2 separate regions of the Homo sapiens genome follow, and region 1 is linked to region 2. Evidence: promoter capture Hi-C in human tissues and cell types (Jung and others, 2019). All regions are on one chromosome and are shown on one strand. The core of a region is centred on a gene start or on the middle of the fragment in contact, and the rest is flanking DNA. Distances in the headings are between cores, read along the strand shown.

Region 1 (5,976 bases), core at 1,698-4,197, 260 kb before region 2:
AGGCTAAAGCTTAACTCTTCTCTTTCTCCCTCCCCCAAGGGATTTTCAGTTCATAAATAAGAGCCCAGAGGGGACCAACCTTTGATCCAAAGAAATGATTTTTTCAGAAAATGTCCCCCATTTAAAAATTAATAAAACATGCTCATTGCAGAAAATTGGAAAGCGCAATGAAGAGGAAGAAAAACTTAGACCAAAAAACAAATGAGATCATGTCCTCTGTTGCAACACGGCTAGAGCTGGAGGCCATTATCCTAAGCAAACGAACATAGACAGGAGCAGAAAACCAAATACCGCATGTTCTCACGTATAAGTGGAAGCTAAATAATGAGGACACATGAATACTAGGAGAGGGACAACAGACACTGGGGCCTTCTGGAGGGTGGACAGTGGGAGGACGGAGAGGATTAGAAAAAAATACCTGGTGGGTATTATGCTTATTACCTGGGTGACAAAATTATCCGTATACCAAACTCACATGGCAGTTTATCTATATAACAAACCTGCACATGTATCCCAATCCTAAAAGTTAAAAAAAAACCTAGACCAAGAATTCCTCTACCTGATAATTTTGTAAACATTTCAGAATATTTCCAACACACCTGTTATGTCTCTGCAATGATACTGCAAATGCAGTTTTGTAACCTTAAGCCAATTTTTTTTTTTTTTCTGGAGACAGATTCTCGCTCTGTCCCTGAGGCTAGAGTGCAGTGGCACAATCTCAGCTCACTGCAACCTCCTCCTCCCAGGTTCAAGCGATTCTCCTGCCTCAGCCTCCCGAGTAGCTGGGATTACAGGCATGCACCACCACACCCGGCTAATTTTTGTATTTTTAGTAGAGGCGGGGTTTCACCATGTTGCCCAGGCTGGTCTCGAACTCCTGACCTCAAGTGATCTGCACGCCTCGGCCTTCCCAAAGTACTGAGATTGCAGGTGTGAGGCACCATGCCCGGCCTAACACTTAAGCCTTAAAACTATGAAATCCGGATGTCCACGTGTATACCAGCCAGGACAGGTTAGGTTACACTGTGGCAACAAATATCCCCAAATCTCAGTGGCTTCACACACCACAAGAGGTTATGTCTTGCTCACACCCTATGCCCTGGGATTGCAGGGTAGGGATCGGCATGGAGTCTCTGCTTATCATAGTCACTCAGGGACCTAGGCTGAGGAGGTGCCATCCTGGCATGAATTGCCAGGAGCGCTGTCTGGATGTGACATGCCACTTCCGCTCACATTGCATTGGCCAAAACATGTCACATAGCTACCTCACTGCAAGGCCAGATGAAATACCATCCTACCACCGGCCATGCAACATGGGAGGACAGTAATACTTGGGGTGTGGCACTAGTGCCGATTATAGCTAGGGTGACCAATTGTCCCCATTTTCTCAGGACCAAGGAGTTTTCCAAAATGCCGGCCTTCTTGTGCTAAAATTGGGAAAGTCCTGGGCAACCCAGGAGGACTTGTCTGCTCCTATTGTACCACGTTGTGCGGTCTTTACACACTCACTTTTCAAAACTGCACAGCAGCCATCTTTTAGATGAACCAAGGTTTCTCTCCCCAGTCCCCTATTGCTGGAGACTCAGACTGTTTCCAGTATTCCATGTTTATAAATACATTGTCTTAAATACCTCCATGGATAAAACCATGTCTACTTCTCAGTGGCTTCTCAGAGGTGCCATTGGTGGCCGTTTACAGGCTCACAATACCTGTTATCCATAGGTAATTCAAAAAGGTTGAAACAATACAATTTGCCTTCTGCAGCGAAAGCACGTACCTGCTTTCCTTACCTTCTCCTGGAGCCCAGAGCAGTCATTCTCTAATTGTAGCCTCCAGCTCACCTGGAGAGCTCCTTAAAACAGATTGCTGGTCCCTAGCGCCAGAGTTTCTGATCCACGGGGGCTGGGATGAAGCCTAACCTTTGCGTTTTTGTGTGTGTGGTTTGTTTGTGGGTTTTTTTGTTGTTTGTTTGTTTGTTTGTTTTGATGGAGTCTCGCTCTGTTGCCCAGACTGGAGTGCAGTGGTGCAATCTCGGCTCACTGCAAACTCCAGCTCCCGGGTTCAAGCGATTCTCCTGCCTCAGCCTCCTGAATAGCTGGGATTACAGGCGTGTGCCACCACACCTGGCTAAGTTTGTATTTTTAGTAGAGACCGGGTTTCTCCATATAGGTCAGGCTGGTCTTGAACTCCCGACCTCAGGTCATCCACCTGCCTCAGCCTCCCAAAGTGCTGGGATTACAGGCATGAGCCACCGCGCCCGGCCAGATGCCACCACTTTGCCACCGAACAGGTGACCCTGCTCAGCTACTCACCAGAGGTCTAACCTGGAGCAAATTATGCAATTAGCCTCTCTTAGCCTAGGTTCCTATCTGTGAATTGGAGCAGTTGGGAGGATGGACTACCAGGGTAACCATGAGTTCAGTTAAAAATAGTTACAGTTATTCAGCGGTAAATTAAATAACTTTATGTTTTAAAATATTTGTGAGTTTGAATGGAACTGCATTGATTAACATTTGTATTCCTTTCATATCTGAGTGGGAATGGACTTTCTCCCTGTGAGGGTTAAGCATTTGTGTTTCCTTTCTAGTGTGAATCATCGCTCCTGCCCTTTGCCCATTCACCTGCAGGTTTCTCTGCCTTTCCTCTCCGTCTGCCTGGGATCATTACAGAGCAAAGATAAACCCCCATGGCCGTTCTTGATTGCTAGAGATTTTTCCAAAGCTGTTGCTCACCTGTCTGCTGGGGCCATTTTTCTGGCTTACAAAGTGGCCGAATCCATCTGACTTTCCCATTTTTATTTTCTCTATCACTTTTAAGCTTAGATTGGAGCCCTTCTCCAGAATGTGACAATATAAAGGAAATGGATTTTGAATGATGAGATTTCCTGCACCTTGAGGGGTGGTGGGGGTGGGGGATCCTGGCTCAACTCAAACCCTGTGGTGGTGATAGAAGGCATAGTCAGAAACCAAGAGCCCCTCAGCACCAGGACAACCCACCACCCTCAGCTCTCCTCGACATTAGCCACGCTGTCTCTCTCCCCATTTGCAGAGTCCCCCCGCAGAGAGGCACAGGGCAGGCCAGAGCTGGATGCGCGGCTGGAAGGTCAAAGGCATCATCCTCAGGTTGGAGACAGGATGACCGAAGGTGTAAGAACTGGCCAGAGGAGTTGGACAACTCCCAGCTCAGGTCTCTCCTCGACTGCTTTGGCCGTGTGAGCTTTGCCTCTCTGGGTCTCTGTTGTCTCATCCATAAAATGGGCCTGACCATGCCCAAGTCAACGGAAGGATTTAAATAGATCAGCGCCCTGAGGTCGGTGCTGGACGCCGAGTACACGCGCCCAGTACACAGGGCTTGAGCTCATTACACGCCCCAGTTCTGTTCCTGGGGTGGTGGCGTGAACCCCACTGCCTTTGCCTTTAATTGCACTGAAAATATCCAGCACCGCTGATATCAAGGGCCCAGGTCCCGGCGGAAATGAACTCCCAGACTTGGGCGCCCAGGTTTCCGTGCGCGACCCCAGCCCCTCCGGCTGCAGCTCAGCCCATCGGCCCTGCGCGGGAACAGTGTCACCCGGGCACCCGGGCCAGAACAGGCCACGCGTGTCCCAGGAGCGCGGGAAGCTCCCACGCCCCCTCCCCCGCACCGCTCCTTTGGCTGGCAGAGCGGGTCCTCAGCGCGTCTCAGCCGCACCAAGCGCCTCCCGCTCCCGCGCCACCCGGGCGCGCTGCTGGGGCCTGATTTCCATAATAATCAGCCAGAGATCTCCCGAAAAGGCTGGGAGCGGCCGCCGCCGCCCACCGGGGAAGCTCCCGAGGGTGGGCGCCCCCCTTCCCACCCTCCCTGCCGCCGCCGGGAGGGAGCCTCGTTTTTAAAAGCTTTCGAGAAACCGTCCGTGCGCAGGAGGCAGCTGGGAGACACCCAGGATGTCGTTCTCCGCATTAAGGAGGGGGACGGCGGTGGGGGAGGTGGGAGAGGCCGCGGCGCAGGTGTAGACCAGGCTCAGAGGCAAGGAGGGGAGGAGGGAAACTGAGGCAGCCGCGGGGTGGGGAGACGTTTCAAGGTATATTCTCACTGCAGCCTCACGGCGACCCTGCGGGTGAGTTATCTGCTATGCCCCACTTTACAGGTGGGGAAACTGAGGCCTAGAGAGGTTTCCAGTCTTCCAAGCTGGCAAGTGGCTGGGCGGGGACCCTTTTCCGAGTTGGGGGATTCAGATCCCCTGGCCTGCCCGGCACACTGCCTCCTGCCCAAAATGGGCAGCGTAGAAGCAGGATGCTCTGTGCATCCCAAGATGGGAGAACCAACCCGAAAGGGAAAGACCAGGGGGCTGAGGTCCGGCACACACTTGGAGCTGATCTGGTCCAGAAGCCCGTGGGCTCGCAGAACCTAGTTTGAACCCCAGCTCTGCCACCTCCCAACCATCCCCCAAGGGGTGGGCAAACTACAGCCCCTAGGCCAAATCCTGTCAAACTGTTATGGTACAACCAGAAACCAAGCATGTTTTTTTTTCTTTTTTTTCTCTTTTTCTTTTTCTTTCTTTCTTTTTTTTTTTTTTTTTTTTTTTTTTTTTTTAGATGGAGTTTTCGCTCTTGTTGCCCAGGCTGGAGTGCAGTGGTGCGATCTCGGCTCACTGCAGCCCCTCCCTCCTGGGTTCAAACAAGTTTCCTGCCTCAGCCTCCCAAGCAGCTGGGACTACAGGCACGGGCCACCACACCCGGCTAATTTTTTTGTATTTTCAGTACAGATGGGGTTTCACCATATTGGCCAGGCTGGTCTCAACCTCCTGACCTCAGGTGATCCACCCTCCTCGGCCTCCCAAAGTGCTGGGATTACAGACATGAGCCACTGCACCCGGCTAGGTTTTTTCTATTTCTGAAGATAAAAAAAAAAATTCCTGACATGTGAAAATTATATGAAATTTGAATTTCCATGTTCATCCACTTTTTTAATTAAAATACAGCCACACCCACTTATTTCTGGTACTGTCTATGGCTGCTTTCCCTCTACGGTGGCACCGTTGAATAGTTTTGACCAAGAAGCATGGCTCGTAAAGTCAAAAATATTTACTATGTAGCCTTTTCCAGAAAAGCTTTGCCCATCCCTGCAATAATGGGGCAACGATGAAGCCTCTACGCCTCGGTTTTCTCACCTGGACAGATGGGAATGCCATTAAGTGAGGATGAAGTGAAGGCTGGGAAAGCCCTGAGCACAGTTGGCAGCACCCATCTTAGAAATGCCTTTGACCGGCCCGGTGCAGTGGCTCACGCCTGTAATCCCAGCACTCTGGGAGGCCGAGGCAGACGGATCCCCTGAGATCAGGAATCCAAGACCAGCCTGAGCAACATGGAGAAACCCCATCTCTACTAAAAATACAAAATTAGCCAGGAGTGGTGGCGCATGCCTGTAATCCCAGCTACTCGGGAGGCTGAGGCAGGAGAATCGCTTTAACCCAGGAGGCAGAAGTTGCAGTGAGCTGAGATTGTGTCACTGCACTCCAGCCTGGGTAACAGAGTGAGACTCCGTCTAAAAAAAAAAAAAAAAGAAAGAAAGAAAGAAAAAGAAATGCCTTTGACTTTTGCCAAGCCCCTGCTGCTTGCTGCCTCCCCATCCCGAATCACGGCTACCTGGGTGGATGCACTTTGAACTCAAGATATTCATCCCCTGCCCCCATTCATCCTGCTTGTCCTCACTCCAAGCTTATCAACCTGGCCTCCAGCCACCCTCTCCCGTCAGTGACCCAGCCTGACCGGTTCCACCTCCAGCACCCAGCACAATCCCTGCCCCACACTGGTTCTTAGCAAACATTTTCTTTCTCTTTTTTTGAGACGGAGTTTCACTCTTGTTGCCCAGGCTGGGGTGCAATGGCGCAATCTCAGCTTACTGCAACCTCTGCCTCCTGGATTCAAGCAATTCTCCTACCTCAGCCTCCCAAGTAGCTGGGATTACAGGCATGCGCCACCATGCCCGGCTGATTTT
Region 2 (6,067 bases), core at 1,084-3,583:
CCTAAATCCAATACGACCAGTGTTCTCATAAGAGGAGAGAAATATAGACACAGAGACGGAGACACACAGAGGAGTCCACGTGAAGTTGGAGGCAGAGATTGGAGTGATGCAAGCCAAGGAATGCGAGGAGCCACCAGAAGCTGGAAGAGGCAAGAAAGAACCCTCCCCTTGCGCCTTCAGCAGGAGCGTAGCCCTGTAGCACCTTGGTTTCAGGTTTCTAGTCACCAAAACCAAGACAGAACAAACGTCTATCGTGTGAAGCCACCCACAATTTGGTGGTAATTTGTTATTGCAGCCCTAGGCAATGAATACACCATCTAATCCTCAGAAGAGGCAGCCTGTGATCCCCTTCCACAGATGTAAGGAAGACTGGGGCTCAGAGACGGTCAGTGACTTGGCCAAGGCCACACAGTAAAGCTGTGGCAGAGTCTGGTGTAGAATCAACGAATCAGAGACCTCAGTGGGAATCCACTCAACCCCTTGTGATTTGCAGCTTGTGGCCTTGGGCAATTTGCTCTCCAAGACTTGGGTTTTGTGTGTGGGTATATGAGACAAGGTCTCACTCTGTTGCCCAGGCTGGAGTACAGTAGTGCAATTACGGCTCACTGTAGCCTCGACCTCCTGGGCTCAAGTGATCCTCAGCCTCCCAAGGCTGAGGAGTGTGCCGCTACCCCCACTAATTTTTTAAGGCAAAGCGTAGTGGCATGCACCTGTAGCAGAAAAGGTCTCACTATATTGCCCAAGCTGAGATTTTTTTTTATCTCTATAAAGATCAATGGAGGCCAGGCACAGTGGCTCACACCTGTAATCTCAGCACTTCGAGAGGCCAAGGCAGGAGGATCCCTTGAACCCAGGAGTTTGATATCAGCCTGAGCAACATAGTGAGACCTCATCTCTACGAAAAATAAGAAATAAGCTGGGTGGGGTGGCTCACACCTGTAATCCCAGCACTTTGGGAGGCCAAGGTGGGCGGATCACCTGAGGTCAGGAGTTCGAGATCAGCCTGACCAACATGGTGAAACCCTGTCTCTACTTTAAAAATACAAAAATTAGGCCAGGAGCAGTGGCTCACACCTGTAATCCCAGCACTTTGGGAGGCCAAGGCAGGTGGATCACCTGAGATCAGGAGTTCAAGACCAGCCTGACCAACATGGAGAAACCCCATCTCTACTAAAAATACAAAATTAATCGGGTGTGGTGGCCCATGCCTGTAATCCCTGCTACTCAGGAGGCTGAGGCAGGAGAATCGCTTGAACCTGGGAGGTGGAAGTTGTGGTGAGCCGAGATCGTGCCATTGCACTCCAGCCTGGGCAACAGAAACTCCATCTCAACAAAAAAAAAAAAATTAGCCAGGTGTGGTGACACATACCTGTAATCCCAGCTACTTGGGAGGCTGAGACCAGAGAATTGCTTGAACCCAGGCAGCAGAGGTTGCAGTGAGCTGAGATCGGGCCACTGCACTCCAGCCTGGGCAACAGAGCGAGACTCCATCTCAAAAAAAAAAAAAAAAAGAGAAAGAAAAGAAACAAACAAAATTAGCCAGTGTGGTAGTGAGTGCCTGGGGTCCCAGCTACTCAAGAGGCTGAGGTGGGAGGATCATTTAAGCCAAGGAGGTCAAGTCCGTAGTGAGTTATGATTGCCACCACTGCACTCCACCTGGTGACAGAGCAAGATGCTGTATTGTTGTTGTTGTTTTGAGATGGAGTCTCACTCTTGTTGCCCAGGCTGGAGTGCAATGGCACAATCTCGGCTCACCATAACCTCTGCCTCCCAGGTCCAAGTGATTCTCCTGCCTCAGCCTCCCCATTAGCTGGGATTACAGGCATGTGCCACCAGGCCTAGCCAATTTTGTATTTTTTTAGTAGAGACGGGGTTTCTCCATGTTGGTCAGGCTGGTCTCAAACTCCCAACCTCAGATGATCCACCAGCCTCGGCCTCCCAAAGTGCTGGGATTACAAGCAGGAGCCACCACGCCTGGCCCAAGATGCTGTTTTTTAAAAAAAGACCTCTGTCCAACTTCTTTGCTGCACAGATGGGGAAACTGAGGCCCAGAGAGGGACAGCAATGGTTTTCCCTAAAAGCCCCCACCCAGGCAAAGACAAAGATGAACAGAGTGGGGCAGGCAGCAGGGGGCTAGTGTCCTCACCGTCATGGTGACAGCTCCTGGCGGCAGCTCCCAGCGGCTCCTGGAGGCCTGTGCTCAGGGTCTCAACTCGTGGTCAAGCTTATATCCTAGAATATTACACATTAACTCCCTCAAGGTCCTAGGTGAGGACTTTGCCCCTTCTACCTTGTGTCTCCCCGCCTGCATCTCCCAGTACCCAGCACAAACAGGCAGAAGACTCCTCAGCCAGCTCCACCCCACCCAGCCCGGAGCATCCTCCTGGCCTCCCTCCAGCCCAGCCTCCCCCTCCTCAGCGCTCCCAGAGCCCGAGAGGGGAAGCAGCCCCAGCTCTGCCCCCACACAAACCGCAATGCAGCCGCTTGACAGCTCTCCCAGCCTCCCTCACTTAGCCCAGCTTCCTTGCCTGTAAAAAGAGAGATTTGCTTTGCAAAAAAAAAAAAAAGTCTAGGTTTCTAATTTTCTTTTTTTTTTTTTTTTGAGACAGAGTCTCACTCTGTCACCCAGGCTGGAGTGCAGTGGCAACGATCTCCGCTCAATGCAATCTCCTGGGTTCACACCATTCTGCTGCCTCAGCCTCCCGAGTAGCTGGAACTACAGGCACCCGCCACCATGCCCGGCTAATTTTTTGGTATTTTTAGTAGAGACGAGGTTTCACCGTATTAGCCAGGATGGTCTCGATCTCCTGACCTCGTGATCTGCCCACCTTGGCCTCCCAAAGTGCTGGGATTACAGGCGTGAGCCATTGCGCCTGGCCTAAGGTTCTAATTTTCTATGATGTTATGATTCATTGTCAGAGAGCATTATGTTTTCTTCTTCCCTCCCCATATTATTTATCTGATCGGACATGTAGGTTTCAAAACCAATACACGGATTCAAAGAAAAGATTTCAAACTATTTACAACAAATGGTCAAAAGCAGAGGAGAGCTGGGCGCGGTTGCTTAAGCCTGTAATCCCAGCACTTTGGGAGGCCAAGGCAGGCGGATCACCTGAAGTCAGGAGTTTGTGACCAGCCCGGCCAACATGGTGAAACCCCATCTCTACTAAAAATACAAAAATTAGCTGGGCGTGGTCGCACCTGTAGTCACAGCTGCTCAAGAGGCTGAGGCAGGAGAATCGCTTGAACCCGGGAGGTGGAGGTTACAGGGAGCTAAGATCGCGCCACTACACTCCAGCCTGGGCGACAGAGTGAGGCTCCGTCTCAAATAAAAAAATAAAAAATAAATAAAAGTGCAGAAGGAGTGGGAGGGCTGAGTGGGGGACATGGAGGATGAAAATGCTTTGCTCTTGACTTCTGTTACTTATGTAACTGGCATGCTTACTATAGACAATTAGAGATATTAAATAAAAAGAAAAATAATCACTCATAATGCCACCGCCACGAGGGAACTGGCTTACGCTGTTGGCACATTTCCTTCCAGGCGGTTCTCCACAGATTTACATTATAGACACCCCTCTGTCTGTGCAATTGTTTATCTCTCTTCATTTGGGAAACATTAAAGACCACAAATCTATATTTCAGAACCATACTTTAATGCCTGCGAAATAGTCTACCTTTCAACGACTGAATTTATTTAACCAATTTCCTTCTGCTGAACACTCACATTAATTCTACATTTTTGCTATTAAAAATACTGCTGCATTAAATCTATTTGGACATAAACTTTGGCTGCATCGTGACAACTTATGTAGGGCAGATTCCCAGAAGGAGAACTTTTCTAGAGCTCAGGATTTGGCGAGCCAGAGCGTTTTCCATCAGAGTTGGCGGTGGCCACTCCGGGCAGGATGTGGGGAACTGGCCTTGCCGAGGGCCCTCGGTGCCAGGAGTCTGCAGGTGGCTCACTGCCCAGTGCCCACATAGGACACCACCTTCAGTCCCCTGCCAGCCCGGAGTGAGGAGTGACTTCCTCCTTTCACCCACAAGGAAATTAATCCTCTCTCGGCCTTTCTCCCAAAGGCATGGTAAAACCCCAGTGAGATAAGGAATTTTAAAAGGCTTTCTCCCTGGAAACTAATCAACAGAAACTATACCTTTTAAAGGTGGCATTTTTCTGATTATAATAATAATATTATCTCACTATAGGAGGTTCCAGAAAGTACACACAGTAAAAGGAACTTAAAGTTCACTTGTTTTAAAATAATGTTCAAAAGCAGGGGAAAATGACCATGCATATCATTTACGTACTTTGCTGCGTATATATTTTATACCAATGAAAGATTTAAAAAAAGAAAAAAGAATGGCTGGGCATGGTGGCTCACCCCTGTAATCCCAGCACTTTGGGAAGCTGAGGTGGGTGGATCGCTTGAGTCCAGGAGTTCGAGACCAGCCTGGGCCACATAGTGAGACCCTATCTCTACTAAAAATTTTTTTTAATTAGCCAGGCATGGTGGCACATGCCAGTAGTCCCAGCTACTCAGGAGTCTGAGGTAAGAGAATCACTTGAGCCCTGGAGATCCAGGCTGCAGTGAGCCATGATTGTGCCACTGCACTCCAGCCTGGGTGACAGTGACGGACCCTGTCTCAAAGGAAAAAGAAAAAGAACAGAAATTCCAATACTCACATCTGTAACCTTGTCCTCTTAACAATGGCTACCTTCTGAAGGGCATTCTGCACTTTGCAAACCACTTTCTTCAGCCCTCATCGTTATAAGCTCATAGTACATTCTCAAGGGAACCTCTGTTCTCACCCCATTTTTCAGGTGGGGAATTAGGGATCCCAGGACTCACGCAACTAGAAAGTAGCAGAGCTTGCTGTCTAGCAACCAATCCCTTGCTCAGGCGCCTGCCAAAGTGTGTGGCACTGCCCTCACTTAGCAAAAAGAGCATTTGACCTCCAGTGTGACCTTGAGCCCTCTGTGCGGTGGCCGCCTCTGAGATGGCCCCAATGATCCCCAGCTCCTGGTAATCACACACTTGCCCAATCAGCTCCCTTGAGCATGACTGGACACAGGACTTGCTTCTAACTAAAAGAATACTAGAATATGGCAAAAGTCATGGGATGTCACTTCCAAGGTTAGGTTACAAAAAAACTGTTGTCCTGCTGTCTCTCTCGCCCTCTGCTCTGCTCTTGCCCTGGGGAAGAAGCAATGAAACCACCTTGCGAGTAGCTCTATGGAGAGGCCCATGTGCCAAGGAACTGACGTCTCCAGCCAACCACCAATGAAGACCAGGACCTGCCAACAGCTACATGAGTGAACTTGACATTGGAGCTTACCCCACGCCAGCCTGGAGACAACTTGTGCAGCCGACACCCTGACTGCAGCCTTGTGAGACCCGGAGCCAGAGGCTCTCAGCTAAACCCCACCTGGATTCCTGCCCCAAAGAAACCATGAGAAACGTGTTTCTTATTTTAAGTCCCTACATTTTGGGTTAATTTATTACGCAGTGATAGATAACTAATATACCTTGCCAAGCAATTGTTATTGGAAGGCTGGTAGACGGAATAATATTCCTGAAGGCCTCCCTCCTGGCTAAAGAATCTTTGGTCCATAGATGTCCACAGACATTCTATAATACTATACTGAATTTTTTTTTTTCTTGAGATGGAGTCTTGCTCTTGTCGCCCAGGCTGGAGTGTAATGGCACAATCTCTGTTCACTGCAATCTCCACCTCCTAGGTTCAAGTGATTCTCCTGCCTCAGCCTCCCAAGTACCTGGGATTACAGGCGCCCACGACCATGCCCAGCTAATTTTTGTATTTTTAGTAGAGGCGGCATTTCACCATGTTGGCCAGGCTGGTCTCAAACTCCTGACCTCAGGTGATCCGCCTGCCTCAGCCTCCCAAAGTGCTGGGATTACGGGTGTGAGACACCACGCCTGGCTACAAAAGATATTTTTAAATTAGCTTGGCACGGTGGAGCACAAATGTAGTCCCAGCTACGGGAGAGGCTGAGGTGGGAGGTTCGCTTGAACCCAGGAGGTCAAGGCTGCAGTCGGCCATGGTC

Evidence for each region. The method cuts DNA at HindIII sites, captures the fragments that hold promoters and counts their contacts. A contact is called where the count stands out against the background at its distance.
Region 1: a fragment that was not itself captured here is called in contact with the fragment with the promoter of LGALS2 in region 2 in 1 of the 25 tissues and cell types used here (spleen).

The regions. Positions count from the first base shown.
Region 1 is chr22:37,321,213-37,327,188 of GRCh38, forward strand. All of the region lies in intron 1 of LOC105373024 (a long non-coding RNA gene), which reads right to left. Among named protein-coding and RNA genes, the nearest start is that of CYTH4, 42 kb to the left of the region's middle. The HindIII fragment of the contact is 3,069 bases long and covers 1,414-4,482 here.
Region 2 is chr22:37,577,754-37,583,820 of GRCh38, forward strand. It overlaps LGALS2 (galectin 2), which reads right to left and starts at 2,334. Exons shown (of 4, transcript NM_006498.3): 1 at 2,147-2,334. The coding sequence starts at 2,152. RefSeq lists a silencer at 2,661-2,720. The HindIII fragment of the contact is 22,309 bases long and covers 1-6,067 here.